Linked DNA regions of Homo sapiens: regions 2, 3, 4, 5, 6 and 7 are each linked to region 1. Evidence: promoter capture Hi-C in 16 types of primary human blood cells and fetal thymus (Javierre and others, 2016). All regions are on one chromosome and are shown on one strand. Each heading gives the region's core, a stretch centred on a gene start or on the middle of the fragment in contact. The rest is flanking DNA. Distances are from core to core; before and after follow the strand shown. Region 1 holds the start of SEH1L (SEH1 like nucleoporin). Region 2 overlaps LDLRAD4 (low density lipoprotein receptor class A domain containing 4). Region 3 holds the start of MIR4526 (microRNA 4526). Region 4 has its middle 1.7 kb from the start of TUBB6. Region 5 overlaps AFG3L2 (AFG3 like matrix AAA peptidase subunit 2). Region 6 has its middle 14 kb from the start of AFG3L2. Region 7 overlaps PRELID3A (PRELI domain containing 3A).

What was found. The method cuts DNA at HindIII sites, captures the fragments that hold promoters and counts their contacts. A CHiCAGO score of 5 or more calls a contact.
Region 2: a contact is called between a fragment that was not itself captured here and the fragment with the promoter of SEH1L in region 1, in 1 of 17 cell types (fetal thymus). The highest score is 5.0, in fetal thymus.
Region 3: a fragment that was not itself captured here is called in contact with the fragment with the promoter of SEH1L in region 1 in 1 of 17 cell types (fetal thymus); the score reaches 7.6 in fetal thymus.
Region 4: a contact is called between a fragment that was not itself captured here and the fragment with the promoter of SEH1L in region 1, in 3 of 17 cell types (monocytes, erythroblasts and naive B cells). The highest score is 8.2, in monocytes.
Region 5: a contact is called between a fragment that was not itself captured here and the fragment with the promoter of SEH1L in region 1, in 15 of 17 cell types (naive CD8 T cells, non-activated CD4 T cells, monocytes and 12 more). The highest score is 14.6, in naive CD8 T cells.
Region 6: a contact is called between a fragment that was not itself captured here and the fragment with the promoter of SEH1L in region 1, in 13 of 17 cell types (fetal thymus, total CD8 T cells, monocytes and 10 more). The highest score is 14.6, in fetal thymus.
Region 7: a contact is called between a fragment that was not itself captured here and the fragment with the promoter of SEH1L in region 1, in 11 of 17 cell types (monocytes, total CD4 T cells, naive B cells and 8 more). The highest score is 8.5, in monocytes.

Annotation. Positions count from the first base shown.
Region 1 is chr18:12,946,752-12,949,265 of GRCh38, reverse strand. It overlaps SEH1L (SEH1 like nucleoporin), which reads right to left and starts at 1,255. Exons shown (of 9, transcript NM_001013437.2): 1 at 1,034-1,255. The coding sequence starts at 1,144. RefSeq lists an enhancer at 75-676 and silencers at 608-707, 718-1,067, 1,108-1,557. The HindIII fragment of the contact is 15,085 bases long and covers 1-2,297 here.
Region 2 is chr18:13,629,600-13,632,113 of GRCh38, reverse strand. The region is part of intron 5 of LDLRAD4 (low density lipoprotein receptor class A domain containing 4); the gene reads right to left. Among named protein-coding and RNA genes, the nearest start is that of MIR4526, 20 kb to the right of the region's middle. The HindIII fragment of the contact is 3,355 bases long and covers 1-2,514 here.
Region 3 is chr18:13,610,298-13,612,811 of GRCh38, reverse strand. The region is part of intron 4 of LDLRAD4 (low density lipoprotein receptor class A domain containing 4); the gene reads right to left. It overlaps MIR4526 (microRNA 4526), which reads right to left and starts at 1,698; the gene lies at 1,612-1,698. RefSeq lists an enhancer at 1-188. The HindIII fragment of the contact is 1,087 bases long and covers 716-1,802 here.
Region 4 is chr18:12,305,276-12,307,789 of GRCh38, reverse strand. It overlaps a transcript of TUBB6 not described here. Among named protein-coding and RNA genes, the nearest start is that of TUBB6, 1.7 kb to the left of the region's middle. RefSeq lists a silencer at 1-63. The HindIII fragment of the contact is 285 bases long and covers 1,116-1,400 here.
Region 5 is chr18:12,364,834-12,367,347 of GRCh38, reverse strand. AFG3L2 (AFG3 like matrix AAA peptidase subunit 2) reads left to right here. Exons shown (of 17, transcript NM_006796.3): 4 at 1-72; 5 at 231-383. Among named protein-coding and RNA genes, the nearest start is that of AFG3L2, 11 kb to the left of the region's middle. The HindIII fragment of the contact is 2,906 bases long and covers 1-2,514 here.
Region 6 is chr18:12,389,686-12,392,199 of GRCh38, reverse strand. No RefSeq gene overlaps it. Among named protein-coding and RNA genes, the nearest start is that of AFG3L2, 14 kb to the right of the region's middle. The HindIII fragment of the contact is 739 bases long and covers 885-1,623 here.
Region 7 is chr18:12,412,421-12,414,934 of GRCh38, reverse strand. The region is part of intron 1 of PRELID3A (PRELI domain containing 3A); the gene reads right to left. Among named protein-coding and RNA genes, the nearest start is that of PRELID3A, 5.7 kb to the right of the region's middle. The HindIII fragment of the contact is 7,678 bases long and covers 1-2,514 here.

The DNA of each region.
Region 1 (2,514 bases), core at 6-2,505:
AACCAAATAATCCGCACTCCAGCTTTCATTCATCCTGCAACACATCTGGGAGGTTCCTAAATCTCATGTAGCATCCCCACATTAGAAATTCTGCTTGTAGGCCGGGCGCGGTGGCTCACGCCTGTAATCCCAGCACTTTGGGAGGCCGAGGCGCCGAGGCGGGTGGATCACGAGGTCAGGAGTTCGAGACCAGCCTGGCCCACATGGTGAAACTCTGTCTCTACTAAAAAATACAAAAAAAAAAAAAGATTAGCCGGGGGTGGTGGCGTGCACCTGTAATCCCTGCTACTTGGGAGGCTGGGGCAGGATAATCGCCTGAAAGCGGGAGGCGGACGTTGCAGTGAGCCGAGATCGTGCCATTGCACTCCAGCCTGGGTGACAGAGTGAGACTCGGTCTCAAAAAAAAAAAAAAAAAAAGAAAAGAAATTCTGCTTGTCGGAAGTGTCTACAGACGTTTACGGGAACTTCAAGAAACAAACCCTCCGATTCCTGGGCAGCAAGCAGGGAAATCATTGGATGTAAATGGTTTGTATTTTTCTTCCTCGGCGTAACAAAGTGAGCTTCTGCTCTGAACCCACGGAGAAAACCATGTGCCCTGGTGAGAGAACACCGGCGGGGCACAGAACTCGACGCAGCGCCAGCCAGGCAAAGTCTCCCACCAGGTCCCACTGCAGGTCGTCGGGTGAACAGCGCGGGCAAGACCCACGACGCCGAGGCTGACGGTGGGATGCCCCTGGGTTCCCGCCCGCAGCCCCGGCAGCGCGGCCTGGGAGAGGGCCCGGCGTACCCTGCGGGCGGGAGCGCGCACGTGGCACCAGCTGCGCAGGCGCACGGGAGGGCGGCCCGCGAGGCCGCCGTGACCCCACAATACGCGGGCGGGGAGGGCTTCCGCTCAGTCCAGCCAGGGCTCGCCCGCCACCCCACAGCTTCCAGCGGCGTCACTGAACCAAGACACAGCCCCGTTCCCCGCGCCGCCCACCCACTCCCCTTCCTTCCTTCCGGGGTCGGCCCCGCCCGCAAGCGCCGCGCGCACCTTAACGCTCTGATCGCTGGAGCAGGTTGCCATCCGCCGCCCGTGGAAGTCGAAAGAGACATCGTGGATGAGATCCTTGTGGTCCGCCGCGATGCTGCGAGCCACAAACATGGTTTCCGTCGGGCCCGCGCCTCCGAAGAGGACAGTGGCGGCGGCAGCGGCGGCGGCGCGTGGCCCGTAGCCTAGCCAGACCTCGCAGCCCGGGAGCGCACGGCTTGTGCTGCCCACGCCCCCGCACCGCCCCTGCCTATCAAGCCCCGCCCACACACCCTCCGGTCCTTCAAGCCCCGCCCCACCCACCGGCCCGTCAGGCCCCACACAGTCCCCTGGCCCCTCAAGCCCTGCCCACGCCCCGGCCCGTCATGACTCGCCCCACCTTCCGGTCCCTCAAGCCCCGCCCCGCCCCCAGGCCCGTCAAGCCCCGCCTACCCTCCCACCAGAGCCGTCATGCCTCGCCCCACCCTCCCGCCCCCTCAAGCCCCGCCCTGTTCCCGGCTCGTCAATCCTCGTCCCGCCCCCGGCCCGTCATGCCCTACGATCCTGGTGCGGGTTCCTCCAGGCTCTGACCGTTCGGCGGCGGAGGGTGCTCTGCAAAAGGCGAGTTACCTGTGCTGAGAAGTAGTAAGAGCTTATTGGTATACTGTGCAAATGAAGAAAGATGAAAAAGTGAAGACTGCCTCTCACGGTCCTCGGCCCTGAATCATTTAAGTCGACGTTTGGATGTGTTTCCCCCCAGACACATGCGAGGCGCGCGGAGCAGGTGGAGAAGACGAACCGTGGGTTTGGTCAGGAGCCGCGCTCCGTCGGGACGGCTGAAGAGCAGGGAGGGCCGGGGAGACGCCTGAGGGGATGACAAGCAGTCCAGGCTCGGCAGCCTAAGAGCGAAGGCTGGACGGGGAGGAAAGGATCAGAAGTAGTAGTTTAAATGTGTCAAGATTTTACAGGTAGAACAGGCCTGGGGGTGCTAGGAGCCACCACGGGGGTAGGGAAATAGTATGAATTAGAAGAGTCCGCCTGTAGAAACGTGTCATCCCGGGGGAAGGAAGCGGCCGGGGAAGTGGGCTGCTTGCTACCCGGGAGCCAGAGTCCTCCGGGGAAAAGGAAGTGAAGAGGGCCAGAGCCCCTGGGAAGAGGCCTGGCTCAGATCAAGGATTCTGCCAAAACCGGAAAGTGGAGGAGCCAACGACTCGGGGGGTTTTGCTTATCAGGAAAAGGCATTCTAGAGGGCGTAGTGGTAAAGTTAGGATGGGAGACAGTGGAAGCTTGCGTCAGGGGAGCGAAAGTACAGAAAAAAAAAAAATGAGGCTGCAGAAGGGACTTGCCCTTTGGATTTTGGCCAGGAATGACAAAAATGTGAGGTATGGTAAAATTAGCAGGCTGGAAAGTTTTTTAAATGATTAGTCCCAGCTGTCCCCTGATGGATTGCACAGAAACCTGCAAAGAGAAGTGGCGCAATGACCTGACCTTTTTCAACCATAAAT
Region 2 (2,514 bases), core at 5-2,504, 680 kb before region 1:
AACTTGGGACCTGCTGAATGAAGTTTGGGACCCCCAACTTCATTCTGTTAATGTAGTGTATGACACTGACTGAATTTCATGTATGGAACCATCCTTGCCTTCTGGGAATAAATCCCCCACTTGTTGATGATGTATAATCCTTTTACTTTTTTAAATTTAATTTTTATTTAGTATTATTATTATTTTTGAGACAGAGTCTCGCTCTGTCTTCCAGGCTGGAGTACAGTGGCACGATCTCAGGTCACTGCAACCTCCGCCTCCCGGGGTCAAGTGATTCTCCTGCCTCAGCCTCCCGAGTAGTTGGGATTGCAGGTGCGTGCCCCCATGCCTGGTTAATTTTCGTATTTTTAGTAGTGACAGGTTTCACCATGTTGGCCAGGCTGGTCTCGAACTCCTGACCTCAAGTAATCTGCCTCCCTTAGCCTCCCAAAGTGCTGGGATTACAGGTGTGAGTCACTGTGCGCAGCCAGTATAACCCTTTTAATATACTGCTGAATTTAGTTTGCTAGTATTTTGTTGAGGACTTTTGCATCAATATTTATAAGAAATATTAGTCTATGGTTATCTTTTTCTGCTGTGTCTTTGTCTGGCTTTGGTATCAGGAATGCTGGCCTCATCTCATAATGAGTTAGGAAGTGTTCCCACCTCTTGAAATTTCTAGAAGTTTAAGAAGGATTGATGTCAATTCTTTAAATGTTTGGTAGAATTCACCACTGAAGCCATGTGGTCCAGGTTGGAGATTTTAGACCATTGGTTCAATCTCCTTACTAGCTATAGATCTATTAAGATTTTCTATTTCTTCATGATTCAGTCTTGGTAGGCTGTTTCTAATATCTTTTCATTTCATCTAGGTTATCCAATTGGTTTGCATACAATTGTTCGTAGCACTATTTTATAATCCTTTTCATTTCTGTATTTATTGGATCATTTTTCTTCCAACCAGTACATCTCATATTATTAAAGGACAGTCGTCTGCAGCCATGACTTACTGAGGGTTCCCTTGTGCTGCACCATGGGCTGTCGCCTGCTGCCATGCGTCCACGTGTGCAAGGCCACACCACGCCCGAACCCTGCTGGGCTTATGCTCTCAGCTACACTCTCCTTTCCACACACACACAGAGGACCCCAGGAATGATCAGATGTGGGGACTGGAAACAACCAGGGAGAGCACTGAACACAGTGTTTTCCACCATGTGCTTTGCAGCCTCTTAGAGAGCTGGAAAATCCATTTAAGTGGGTCACAGCCAGCATTCCAAAAACTGAAACAGAACAGAAATGATCTGAGCACACTGTAAGTATTGTTTTGTAAAACCTCTGCCTTAATTGCATTATAGGAGGCTTTTGTGTTGTGATATAAAATGTATTTCTTACTGTTCTTCATGGCAAGATACAGATTGAAGGCCTCCGAATGAAGCCAGTTATCCCTCATTTTAGATGGGGGGAAACTGAGGACAGAGGGCATATTCCTCTCTAGGCACCTCGGTCAGTCTGCGGTAAAGCAAGACTACTGCTGGGTATTCTGATTCTACCCAAGGGCTAACCTCCCAGTGAATGAATGTATTTTATGGCCTCAAATAGTTGGAAATCTATTTTTCCCCTGTTCCACAGTGAGAATTTCAAAGAAGAGGTGAAATTGATCTTTGGATATTCAGCAACACCTTTGCCTTCTGATAAAATCAATTTTCCCTGTTTTCTCCCTTTTTTCATGCAGCCTCTCCACCATCCTGATATTTTATCACTACCGTCCTTTCCACTCTAGATGGCAGTCACAGCCTGGATGTGAGGCCAGTACCCCTGGCTGTCAGAGACTGCACCTCCCCCTTTCTTCCTCCTGGGGAATCCATCATCAGACTTCTCAGATTCAAGATCCCCCAACTCTGCTCAATCTAGGGCACGTCCCTTAAGAGAAAAGACAAATCATCTAGGAAGGTCTGCTGGAAGAAAAGGAAGGGAATCCTTTCTATTTCTGGGACAATGCAATGGGCTAGCGGGGAAAAGCAATATGAGGTGCCTCTCCCAGCTTGGTGCTGGGGTTAGTGAGCAATCGGACTTCAAGAGGAATCAGCCTGGGAATGAGAAAGTTCCAGGCAGCAGGAAAATGTGGAACCACACAAGATCCAGGCAGGCATCATCCTGATTTCAGCACCAGTTGCCTCGTCTCACATGTGAGAAGAAGTCAGAGCTCAGAGGGGATTTTCTGTGACCTTCACCCAAGGTCACAGAGCTGCTGGGGCTTTGCCAAGAGCCAGACCCCAGCCTGGTGAGCCTCCCCAACAGGGGCCACCCAGAGTTATGATCATTAAGATAATTTTTAATCTTCTTCTCTTTTTTTTTTTCAGAACAAACCACACCAACTTTCAAGGACTAAGCAAAAAATAAACCAACAGATTTTACTATTAGATTATTAATGCTAATACCTTATATATTTAAAAGATTACTATAAATTTGTTGATAAAAATGTTCATACATTTTATTTAAAATTATTATTTTAGCCACCATAGAAACCATGTTCAA
Region 3 (2,514 bases), core at 10-2,509, 660 kb before region 1:
AGCATGCATCATCCATAGCAGTTCTTGGGAAATGTACCTTTTTTTAAGAACAGGTCTTTGAACTGAGCCTCCTTCAGTGTGCTGTTGTTCAGGTGGTCACTGGACATAATCAGGTCCTCTGCAAGTGGGAGTCCAACTGTGACGCAGCCCCCCCACGTTCAAAGCATCCCTTCAGCTTCCGGCAATCTCCTCTCCAGGCAGCTCAGAGCTGCAGTTATAGCTGGCATGGGGTGTGGGAGAGTGTGTGAGCGTGGAGGGGGGGGGGGTGTGTTTCTGTCTGCCTCGTTCACTCTCTCTCTACTGTATCAGCAGGGCCCACCCCAGGTGCTAGACTCAAATGCTGTGGCTCCGACCGCAGACTGTGGCTACCAATTATCAACTGCCATCAACAGAAACCAGGAGCTCTGCGGCAGGAAGCCGGCCGTGTCACCGAGCAGAGAATAAGTCCGGGGTCTCCGATCCTGAGACCAGCTGTACACCCAGGGCACTACTGTTTACAGCAACGTCTATCAGTGAGCAGTCTGCACTTCTCAGGTTTGGCCTCACACCTGGACGTGTCACACACACAGGCAAGCAGAACGCAGCTAGACGGCTCATCTTGTCACACTGCGTTCAGTAATCTTTTCAACAGGCAAATATCAAACCAGTCCAGACAGAAAGGAGGAAATCTGCAAGTCTCACACAATACTCCTTCCCTTGATCTCTGCTGGAAGCTTTCAGTGTGGAAGGACCGGAGAGGGCGCTTACCAAGGCAGGACACGCGACAGGCGGGACGCTCACGTTAGGCTCGCGTGCTTCTCCCCTGCAGATCCGCTCCCAGAGCGTGCTCGCCCGGCTGGGAGCACCCACAGCGTCCCTCAGGCTGCGAGCCAGGCTGCGGGCTGTCCTCTTCTGGTGCTCCCTCTCCACATCCTCTAACTGATGGGAGCAGCTCCCAGCGGCTCTTGCCACCGAGCTCTGTACTGGCAAGGCGTGAGGTCCTAACCGCAGCAGGAAACACTGCGCGCTCCTTTCCCCCCGGCTCGCTCTTCCCTCTTGGCTCTCCCATTCATTCCCTCTCCCTCTGCCTCACATCATTATTCCCCATGTATGGTAGCACAAAAACACCACAGAGACTCCTTCAAAGTCAGGATGCTCAATGTTCCTAGGCAGTTTTAGTTTATAAGGATCAGAAATTAGAGAACAGAATCCCAGGCAATTCAAACATGAAAGCAGAGACATGTCTCAGGAGGGCGCTTTCTCCTGGTTCATTTTGTTCAAGCACAGTCTCTTTTCCCCGAGGTCTAAACAGTTTGTTTCATCTGAGTGTAAAACATCTCCCGTGCATTCGGATGCCCCCAGGCTGTGTGAAGAAAATTCAGGGCAGGCTGCGAGTCTGTCGCAGTTTTCAGAGAAAATCACGGGGTGGCCGTGGTGGAAAGGGCAGCCTGCCATGGTAACGCTGCAAATAACCCCCACCACAAGCACTGCCGGGAGCCCAGAATAGCCTTTGTTTTTCCTTATTTAGGGTAAATAGGAATGACATGTGGGCCATAACAATAGTTTTGGCTGTAGGAGGAGTTGTCAAAGCAAAACTAAACTCTGTTGGTTACTACCAGCGTTAGAAGCCAGGACAGTGACGTTAGCGGCCAGCCCTGCTGTCAGCCCAGCACGTCACCTGGGGCATGACAGCAGGGACTGGGCCCTGATGTCACCGCAGGGTCCTCCAGGTGGCTAGAAGACATCACTTTCTCATGTTCTCATTTTTGGGGGCAGGGGCAGAAAAGCAACAGAAGAACCACCCAGAAGAGTTTCCAGAAGCTTCACGTGGATAAAAGGAAACCAGAGAATTTCAGCAAGGAAAGTGACCATTTATTAATATACAGCCGCGAGGGAAATCCGGATGGTATGATTCTTCCTGAGCAATTTCCGAATTAAAAATGGAACTCCCCTCCCTGTGCCAGACTTTCCCTGACTTCTCAGAGTCACCCTGCTGGGTGAATGAAGAGGGAGTCACCCTCAGAAAGAGGCAGCTTCAGAAAGAATTAGAAGCTGCAGCCACTTCAAGCCGCCCCTCCCTGGCTACCAGCGCCCCTTGTCCCTGGAGCCCCGAGGCTCCTTGCCACCTGGGCCAGCACTTCCTGGTCAGGCTCAGTCACATGATAGGCTTGCCCTCAAGCCAGGGCCTTAGTGAGGAGCGCTGTAGGCCACTGTACCTGTCTGTTTCTTAAAATTAGGGCTTTGTGGGGCAGGCACGGTGGCTCAAGCCTGTAATCCTAGCACTTTCGGAGGCCGAGGTGGGCGGATCACCTGAGGTCAGGAGTTCAAGACCAGCCTGGTCAACATGGCGAAACCCGTCTCTACTAAAAATACAAAAATTAGCCAGGTGTGGTGGCACACGCCTGTGATCCCAGCTACTCAGGAGGCTGAGGCAGGAGAATTGCTTGCAACTGGGAGGTAGAAGTTGCCATGAGCCAAGATAGGGCCACTTCACTCCAGCCTGGGCGACAGAGTGAGACTCCGTCTCAAAAAAAA
Region 4 (2,514 bases), core at 9-2,508, 640 kb after region 1:
CGGTCGCACCCCGGGCACACGTTCTTAGGGCCTCTTCGTCCTGGTGTTTCCGTCTCCGGAGATACAGAGGCCATTCCTCTCCGACGACTCCCACCCCTTTGGAACCGGGTTTAGCTAAAGTGACTACAGGGCTGGATCCGAAAATGAACACCTCCTGCGCCGGGTCTATGCAGCCTACTCCTCGCGCGTTAGCGAAGAAATGCGCTTCGGCCTGGGAGGGCGCGCCAGAGTCCGTCTTCCTGGCCAGTTTTGTGTGGTGGAAAGGAATGACTGCTGATGCCGGCCGGGTGACTTGGATTTTAATTCTAGCTGTTTTCAGTTAGCTCTGCGCTTCAGCGGACTCCTCTGTTAACGGAAAAGGTTATCCTAGGGGAGCCTTTCAGCCTCCAAAATGCGGGATGCTCTGGCCTCTGCAGTCAGAATGTGCATGCATCAGGGCTTTTGCGGAAGTTTCCTCACGTGAACGCTGCAGGCTGGGACCACCGGGGTAGCCTCTGCGTCCCCTCCCAGGCCCGTAGAAACGCCGCACATGAGGAAGCGACGATGTTCTGTAATTTGCACTGGCACTTTCTTTTTAGACAGATGAAAACTTTGGGAAATTCCTAATTGTGTGTGTGCATGTTTGTACGTTTGGAAGGGAGTGGAGAACTTTTAAAAGTTTTTCTTCTGGAGTTTTGCAAATGTTTCCAAATTGAGGAATTTTTTTTTTTAACCCTTGGGTCCCCGCCTCCCCACTGCTCTCTCCACCCCAGTGCTGCTCCTCGGCCTTCTTGTGGGTCCCCACACCTCTTTACACAGCCACACGCCCAGGGAGCAGATGAGGAGGCCACAGCCCAGCCCCTGCGCTCCCATTTCAAACTATGAGCCTGAGATTAATCAGCCACCTTCTCCTGAGTCCTCAACACCCTTATTTAGGCTGTTTGTTTCCATTGCTTAATTATTGACTCCAACGAGTGCTACCTTAACCCATCCTGCCGGCCCGAAGTCTAGTGTGGGGAGCCCGAGAGCGGAGGGCCTGTGCCATCCCTGGAAGAACCCTTCCTCCAGCTTTAGTCTCTCTCTCTAAGAAATCCAGCCATCAAGTGGTTTAAAAGAAAGTGTCTACTTTAGAAGCTTTGGTCGTTTGCTGAAATAGCCACCCTTTCAGTGCTAGCCCTTGGGCTGGAATTTAAGTCCAGGGGTCTGATCGAGCCAGAAAGTAGGTGTCAGCGTGGCTTCCGGAAGTCCGTTGTCACTTGGATTTGACAAGGGACAAGCCGACCTGCTGGTTTCTGGGCTCCTGCTCGCTGTGCGCTCTGCGCTGTCTGCAGGGATTGGTGCCCGCGGAGTGCGCTTTGTCTGGAGAAACTCAGTGCTCGAAGAGTGAGGAGACCGGGAGGAAACCTTCCCCCTGCAAAGCTTATCTCCCTTCCCTCTCATCAGAGGCGGGGCCCCGCAAGACACAAGGGATTTCCCCGCAGAATGAACCAAGGCCTCCCCAGGACATGGGGACAGTTCTGCTGTGCAAAGCCTGAATTCACGTTTCTTTCCTAAAGTGGCTCCCAGTCTCTCTGCAGCCTTGGCCTCTCTTTGAATCCCAACCCTGACTTCCCTGGTGTCTGTTGGCCACTCCCTTCTGGGAGCCGGCAGGTGAAACCCTGACCTGTGAGCCCGGCCTGGGGCTCTCCAGGCTCTGGGCCCCCTACCCTCCCGATCTGTGGCCCTCACTCCTCCTGGGCGAGGCTGTTTGTGACGCGGTGTGTCCAAATGCACACAAGCCGCAAACCAAACTTAAAAAAGCGTAGAGGACACATTCTCTTCTCCTACCTTAAAAAATACACCATGGTATCTGGAAAGCCAGGTTCCAGTTTAGAATTCTCAGGCTAGGCCGGGCACAGTGGTTCACGCCTGTAATCCCAAAACTTCCAAAGCTGACATGGCAGGATTGCTTGAGCCCAGGACCTCGAGACCAGCCTGGGCATTATAGTGAGACCCTTGTCTCTACAAAAAGTTAAAAAATTAGCCAGGCATGGTGGTACATGCCTGTACCCAGCTACTCCAGAGTCTGAGGTGGGAGGATTGATTGCTTGAACCTGGGAGGTGGAGGTTGCTGTGAGCTGTGATCATGTCACTGCACTCCAGCCAGGGTGACAGAGTGAGACCGCGTCTCAATAAAAATAAAATAAAATAAAATAAAAAAGAAATCGGTAGACTTCTTGGGCTCCTCGTTGATTTGCATCAGGGCGTGGAAGTGCGGGGGCTGGTCTCAGCCTGCAGTCCTCACTTTCAACACCCGCCTTTCTCCCCACCTCCAATTCTGTCCCACGCCGAGATGGGTCTCCAGTACATGCCTGTGGACACTTCAGTCCTCAGCCACTCACAGCCATCCCAGGCCACCCTGCGGGAAGAAGGGGCCCTAGGAGTAGGTTTGGGGAGGTCTGGGCAGGGACTCCTGAGGTCCGGGGGGCTGAGGTGCCATCTAGGAGCTGTGGGCTCATCCCAGTGGCCCTGTAGGGAGGGGGCAGGCAAGGACAA
Region 5 (2,514 bases), core at 10-2,509, 580 kb after region 1:
GGAGGAGGTGGTGGCGGTGGAAAACGAGGTGGCAAGAAAGATGATTCTCACTGGTGGTCCAGGTTTCAGAAGGTTTGATGCTATACATTGTGTGAATTTTGAGGTTATGATGGTGGCCCAGAGAAGGTTGGGAGGCATTAGTGTAGTGTTGGAGGGATTTGTGTCTCACAGAGCATAGATCGTATTGTGGAATTTCATTCTTCACAGAAGCTGTCTCCCTCTCTGCCCAGGGTGACATTCCATGGGACGACAAGGATTTCAGGATGTTCTTCCTCTGGACTGCTCTGTTCTGGGGTGGAGTCATGTTTTACTTGCTGCTCAAGAGATCCGGGAGAGAAATCACTTGGAAGGACTTTGTCAATAACTATCTTTCAAAAGGAGTAGTAAGTATTTTATGGGATTGGTGGCTGTTGTGGTTCAAAGGTGAAATTCATCAGATTAGACCAAAGAAGTGACAGTCAGCAGGTTAACCTGGCTCGTCCATTGTAAAATTGTTATTTTCACTCAGATTTTTCTAATGCTGAGAAGTACTGCAACTAGAGAACCCGTGTTTTGACCTGGTGTCCTCAAATTTACCCACAAATTCTTTTATTTCACTACCTCCCAGAACTGGGTTTTGGAACCACTGCTTCTGACCATGGTCTTGGCAGTCCTCTGCTTGCGCCCTTTTCTCACGTGCCCTCAGCTGCCCCTGCTCTGTGCTGTCGTGTGCCAGCCTCTGCCCCTGCTCTGTGCTATCATGTGCCAGCGTCTGCCCCTGCTTTGTGCTGTTGTGTGCCAGCCTCTTTGGGCCCTCTGTGGGTCTTTACTACATTTAGTCACCTGTGGGCGTGGCAGCTAATCAGCGTGTGTTGTCAGAGCAGATGGGGCTCTAAGGGAGGGCCAAGTGGGTGCGTGGTCCCTGCCATTTCTCTGTCTGCGGAGCAGCCTTTGTTACTGTCTGCTGGGCTTGCCCATGTGTGACTATATTCACCACAACCAATGGGAAATAAGTAAGACCATATTTCAGCATATTTAAGATGCTATTGATTGTAAGACACATGGTATTTTATAAGTTGCTAAGACAAATCTAATAAGATGCTGATGAAATTATGACATGCCATCAATTGTAAAATGGATCTCCATTTCTGATGTTAAAATATGAAAAATGTGTGTCTTAGAATTGATGCAGTGGCCGGGCGTAGTGGGTCACGCCTGTAATCCCAGCACTTTGGGAGGCCGAGGCGGGTGAATCACGAGGTCAGGAGATTGAGACCATCCTGGCTAACATGGTGAAACCCCCGAATCTACTAAAAAATACAAAAAATTAGCCGGGTGTGGTGGCACGTGCCTGTAGTCCCAGCTATTTGGGAGTCTGAGGCAGGAGAATGGCGTGAACCCGGGAGGCGGAGCTTGCAGTGAGCCGAGATTGCACCACTGCACTCCAGCCTGGGCGACAGAGCGAGACTCCATCTCAAAAAAAAAAAAAAAAAAAAAGAATTGATGCAGTGTAGTGATAGACACCAGAATTAGGCCTGCTGTGTAGCCTTGGGGAAACCCCTTAACCTCTTAATACTTGGGTTTTCATCCATGAAATGGATAAAGTAAGACGACATGAATACTTACTGAGGTAGTGTAAAGAATTTGAATTCGTTCTGAAGGTTGTGCAGGAAGGTAAGGATGTAAGAAATGGTTATCTACTCAAATGAGCAGCTGCTACTGTGCTAAGAGCTGAAGTTGACTGAGATTAACTTCAGTTTATGTTTCCCCTGGAAGTTGGAAACCTTCAGTGGACTCCAGAATTCCAAAATGCTTACATCGGACAGATCCTGCCTGTACCATTGTCCTGTGCGTAGGGAGATGGGTTCCTGGTGCTTCCTTATGCCACCATCTTCCAGAGTCCTTTTATCTAGTTGGATTTTTGAAACATGTTTATCTTATGAAAGTGAGGATCTTATATGTGTAATTCTCAGATGTAGTGGGGACTCCCACTCAGAAGCTGCTCAGAAGCAGTGGTCATTGCGTGTGGACTGGGCTGCAGCCGTCCTTCTGATTGGGATGGCAGGTCCTCGAGGTGGCTTCTCCATAGCTGCAGCTCCTCCTGACCCTCTGGCTCTTTGGCATTAGTCTGCTGTCTCCCCAGCGGGTGTCTGTGGGGTGGAGCAGTGCCAGTCATTCCTCTCTGACAGAGACTGCCTTTAAGAACAGTTGCTCCCCGATTCCAGCCCCTCTGGGATTGCTCTGGGGCTCCTTTGCTTTTTGTTTGTCATTCTTGCCTTCCAGACTTGCTGACAAAGCAAGCAGTTAGAAATAAGCACATCCCAGAGCGCTCATGCTCCTAAACCAGTTACAGTCCTTGGGATGTGGTGTTTTAACAGTGTTACTAAGAATCCTATGTAGGCTGGCCGTGGTGGCTCACACCTGTAATCTGTGCACTTTGGGAGGCTGAGGTGGGAGGATCACTTGAATCTAGGAGTTCGAGACCAGCCTGGGGAATGTAGGGAGACCCCATCTCTACAAAGAAATGTAAAAAAA
Region 6 (2,514 bases), core at 5-2,504, 560 kb after region 1:
AAATGTTCTGCAGTTGTCATTCATGAAACGTGCATTGGTAGCACCCTGGCATCAGTGACATCATTCATGGTTTTACTCATTATCATCTGGAAAATAGCAACTGGGCATTGTGTCTTTTCTATTCCTTTACCTGAGGCCCATTGCCAGGAACAGTAGCACAAACCAAGACCACCACTGGAAAAGATTATGTCAGCTTCACTTTATAGAAAACACAGCATTAGGTTGTTCGTGGAGATGAACTATGAACAATAGAAAAATTATTTTTTGAAAAATCCAGACCAGCCTTGTGAACACATCTGAAGGTTTTCTGGAAATGCACGGCGTTGTCTAGAGATGTATAGGGCTCTCCTGACGCCTAGTGGGGAACCGTATGCAGCACAACTCTGGGTAGCGAGCCCAAGCCCTAGCCACAAAACACAAATTATTTTCTAAAAACTAATGTTTACCAGGCAATCTCTCTACTAGGAAACCATCCTCTGAATGGAAGCTGGCACATGTGTATATATGCATGTACCAATAAGAATAATTGGCTGGGTGCGTGGGCTCATGCCTGTAATCCCAGCACTTTAGGAGGCCAAGATGGGAGGATCACTTGAAGCCAGGAGTTCAAGACCAGCCTCAGCAGTATAGTGAAACTCCAACGTTACAAAAAATTTAAAAATTAGCCAGCTGTGGTGGCGCAGGCCTGTAGTCACAGCTATTTGGAAAGTTGAGGCTTGAGCCTGGGCATTCAAGGCTACAGTGAGCTATGATCGTGCCACTGCACTCCAGTCTGGGTGACAGAGCAAGACCCTGTCTCAAAAAAAAAAGCTCACGGTGGCTTCTGAAATAAAAAGAAATGAGAATTAGTCTAAATGACGCTTGGTGAGAAAACTATTAAAGCTTTACAAGAGAATACAATAGAGTTTATTAATGCCTTGGGGGAACTATATGTTATTAACATACAAAAATATATGTTAAACAAAAGAAAAAATCAAGATGCATAAAGTACACGTTCGTTCATGTAAAAATAAGTTTTTTTTTTTTTGTTTGTTTGTTTTGAGACAGAGTCTTACTCTGTCACCTAGGCTGGAGTGCAGTGGCACCATCTCGGCTAACTGCAACCTCTGCTTCCCGGGTTGAAGTGGTTCTCAGGCCTCAGCTTCCCTTGTAGCTGGGACTACAAGCGCATGCTACCACACCCGGCTAATTTTCTATATTTTCAGTAGAGGCTGGGTTTTACCATGTTGGCCAGGCTGGTCTCAAACTCCTGGCCTCAAGCAATTCACCAGCCTTGGATTTCCAAAGTGCTGGGATTACAGGCATCAGCCACCACACCTGGCCTAAAAATTAGTTCTATATGCTTGCAAATACATATAAAATGTATGGACACACACACACAGAAAAAACTACCTAGAAATTTACCTTTAAAGGCCAGGCACCATGGCTCATGCCTATAATCACAGCACTTTGGGAGGCCAAGGCAGGTGGATCACCTGAGGTCAGGAGTTAGAGACCAGCCTGGTCAACATAGTGAAACACTAAAAATACAAAAATTAGCCGGGCATGGTGGCAGGTGCCTGTAATCCCAGCTACTCGGGAGGCCAAGGCAGGAGAATAGCTTGAAATCTGGGAGGCAAAGCTTGCAGTAAGCCGAGATCAGCCACTGCACTCCAGCCTGGGCGACAGAGTGAGACTGTGTCAAAAAAAAAAAAAAAAGTCCGGGCGCGGTGGCTCACGCCTGTAATCCCAGCACTTTGGGAGGCTGAGGTGCGTGGATCACGAGGTCAGGAGATCGAAACCATCCTGGCTAACACAGTGAAACCCCGTCTCTACTAAAAATACAAAAAAATTAGCCAGGCATGGTGGTGAGCACCTGTAATTCCAGCTACTTGGGAGGCCGAGGCAGGAGAATAGCTTGAAATCTGCGAGGCAAAGCTTGCAGTAAGCTGAGATCAGGCCACTGCACTCCAGCCTGGGCAACACAGTGAGACTCCGTCTCAAAAAAAAAAAAAAAAAGAAAGAAAGAAAGAAAGAAAGTTACCTTTAAGATGTGAACATGAGAAATGAAGATACTTTTACTTTTCATTTTGTAACTTTGTTTCTGTCCACACTGATGAAAAAAAAATTTATACTGAACTTTTTTTTTATTTTGAAAGACAGAGTCTTGTTCTGTCACCTAGGCTGGAGTGCAATGGTGTGATCATAGGTCACTGCAGCCTTGAATTCTGGGCTCAGGCAATCCTCCTGCCTCAGCCTCCTGAGTAGCTTGAACTACAGGCCTGTACCAGCACACTGAGCTAATTTTTAATTTTTAATTTTTTTTTTTGAGATGGAGTCTCGCTCTGTCACCCAGGCTGGAGTGCAGTGGTGCGATCTCGGCTCACTGCAAGCTCCGCCTCCCGAGTTCATGCCATTCTCCTGCCTCAGCCTCCAGAGTGGCTGGGACTACAGGCACCCGCCACCACGCCCGGCTAATTTTTTGTATTTTTAGTAGAGACAGGGTTTCACTGTGTCAGCCAGGATGGTCTCAAT
Region 7 (2,514 bases), core at 7-2,506, 530 kb after region 1:
AAAAAAAGATGTAGGCAGCCAAAAACAAGATAGTAGGCCTGCTATACCCCACCACCAAGTGACCCAAGGCCTCCATCAGCTGCTCCTTAGCATTTGGGCCACACACCCTGGTGGCTCCAAGAACTTTTCCAGACATAACTGTTGTCACAGTGCTACTGAGACATGACTGACCTTTTCTTTTGGTGGGGGTGGAGGGGTGGGGGGAGGACCAAGTCTCACTCTGTTGCAGAGTGAGACTGGGATGCAGTGGGTGTGATCTCAACTCACTGCAACCTCCACCTCCCGGGTTCAAGCAATTCTCGTGCCTCAGCTTCCCGAGTAGCTAGGACTACAGGCATGAGCCACCACACCCAGCTAATTTTTGTATTTTTAGTAGAGATGGGGGTTCACCATGTTGACTAGGCTGGTCTCAAACTCCTGACCTCAGGTGATCCACCCACCTCGGCCTCCCAAAGTGCTGGGATTACAGGCATGAGCCATGGCGCCCGGCCAATGACTGGCCTTTTTTGCTGTATTGACATTTGCGCTAATTCTGCAAAAGCAATAAAAGGACAGAGCCAGTATCTTCCCAGCATCAAGGCAGGGCTCCAAATTGCATGTGGTCACCGCAGTCCTCACTGCTGTGCACTTGGGAAACAATGCCAGTTTCTCTTAGGGACATCTGTGAGTAAATGGCCAAGTGATTAGTTTTATGACTGCTTGACCCCTGAGTACTCTTCTCTTTGATATTCTGTGTGAGGGAACAGAAGTGCACCAGAAGCCCCTCTGCTGCTGCGGCCCAAGTCCCTCGACTCTGGGGTGTCTGGGGGGCGCCGGCACTTGTTCACTCTGAGTGGGAGCCCCTGTCTCTCTGCTGCTTTCCACTGCCTGCCTCTTGTACTTGAAAGAGCAATAAACAGAAAGAACAATAAACAGATAAACTTTGCTTATTCAGACTTGGGGATCTGGCAGATGATTTCTTGAAAATTAACAAAGTAAGCCTGTGCTTCAAGGAAAACAACTGATAGCATTTGCTGCCAAAGATAAAATTTGAGCTTTAAAGTGATAATTTGGCCAGGCACGGTGGCTCACGCCTGTAATCCCAGCACTTTGGGAGGCCAAGGCAGGCGGATCACCTGAGGTTAGGAGTTCAAGACCAGCCTGGCCAACATGGCGAAACCCCGTCTCTACTAAAAATACAAAAATTAGTAGGCCGTGGTGAGACTCACCTGCAATCCCAGCTATTTGGGAGGCTGAGGCAGGAGAATTGCTTGAATCTGGGAGGCAGAGGTTGCAGTTAACTGAGATCATGCCACTGCACTCCAGCCTGGGCGACAGAGTGAGACTCTGTCTTGGAAAAAAAATAAATAAATAAAGTGATAATTGAAATTTCAGAAAACTTGTATCTGCTACCAGGAGCTGGATGACTGCCTCATGCTGCACGCTCAGTGGAGGCCTATATTCCAAATGCTTCCAAGTCATACTTGGGTTAAAGACTCATTCATACACAGGACAGGCCAATGGGTTTGTTGTTGTGGTGGCTGTTTTAAGAGATGGTATGGCTCTGTCACTGTAGCCTCAAGCTCCTGGGGTCAAGCAATCCTCCTGCCTCAGCCTCCTGAACAGCTAGGACTACAGGCACAAGCCACCACACCTGGCTAATTTTTGTATTTATTTTTTGTAGAGACATATTCTACTATGTTGCCCAGGCTGGTCTCAAACTCCTGAGCTCAACCGATTACCCCCGCTAGGCCTCAGAGTTCAATACTCTATTCATTATAGTTTCAGGTTTTGTATTCCAACTAAGTGTTAAGAAGCTACCGTTTCTTTTGTCATAACAGGAAAGAATAGCCATAATTACTTAAAAAGACTACTAAGATGCTCCCACCTTTTCCAGCTGCATGTTTGTGTGAGGCTGGGGTTTATCCATACACTTCAACCAAAACTATATATTGCCAAACACAGACTGCAGAAGCAGATATGAGAATCAAGTTATCTCCTATTAAGCCAGATATTGTAGATATTAGTAAAAACAGAAACAGCACCACTCCTTTCACTAATTTTTGGAAAATACAGTTTTTTATTCAGAAACATTATAACAGGTTTATTATTGTTAAATTTAATGAATTAACTTTTTCAATTTATCATTTTTAATTTCTAATATGGTAAATATTGACAGACATAACCCACATAAGCAAAACTGTTTAGGGTTTTGCTAAATCAAGAGGTCCTGAGGCTGAAGAGCTTGAAATCCATTGGCCTAAGTGGGCCCTTGATTGAGTGGGAAATAGACACAGGGCTGGTCACTGCAGTTCGATTTGTAATAAGAGGAAAACTTAATGCCCTTCAATAAGAAAAAGAATAAATGGTGGCACATTCATACAGCTATTAATATCTATCTATATCTACATATATTTATGTAGACATCTATAGACATCTCATATGGATGGATTTTCGAAAAACAATAGGGCTAGGCGCAGTGGCTCACGCCTGTAAACCCAGCACTTTGGGAGGCCCAGGTGGGCTGATAACTTG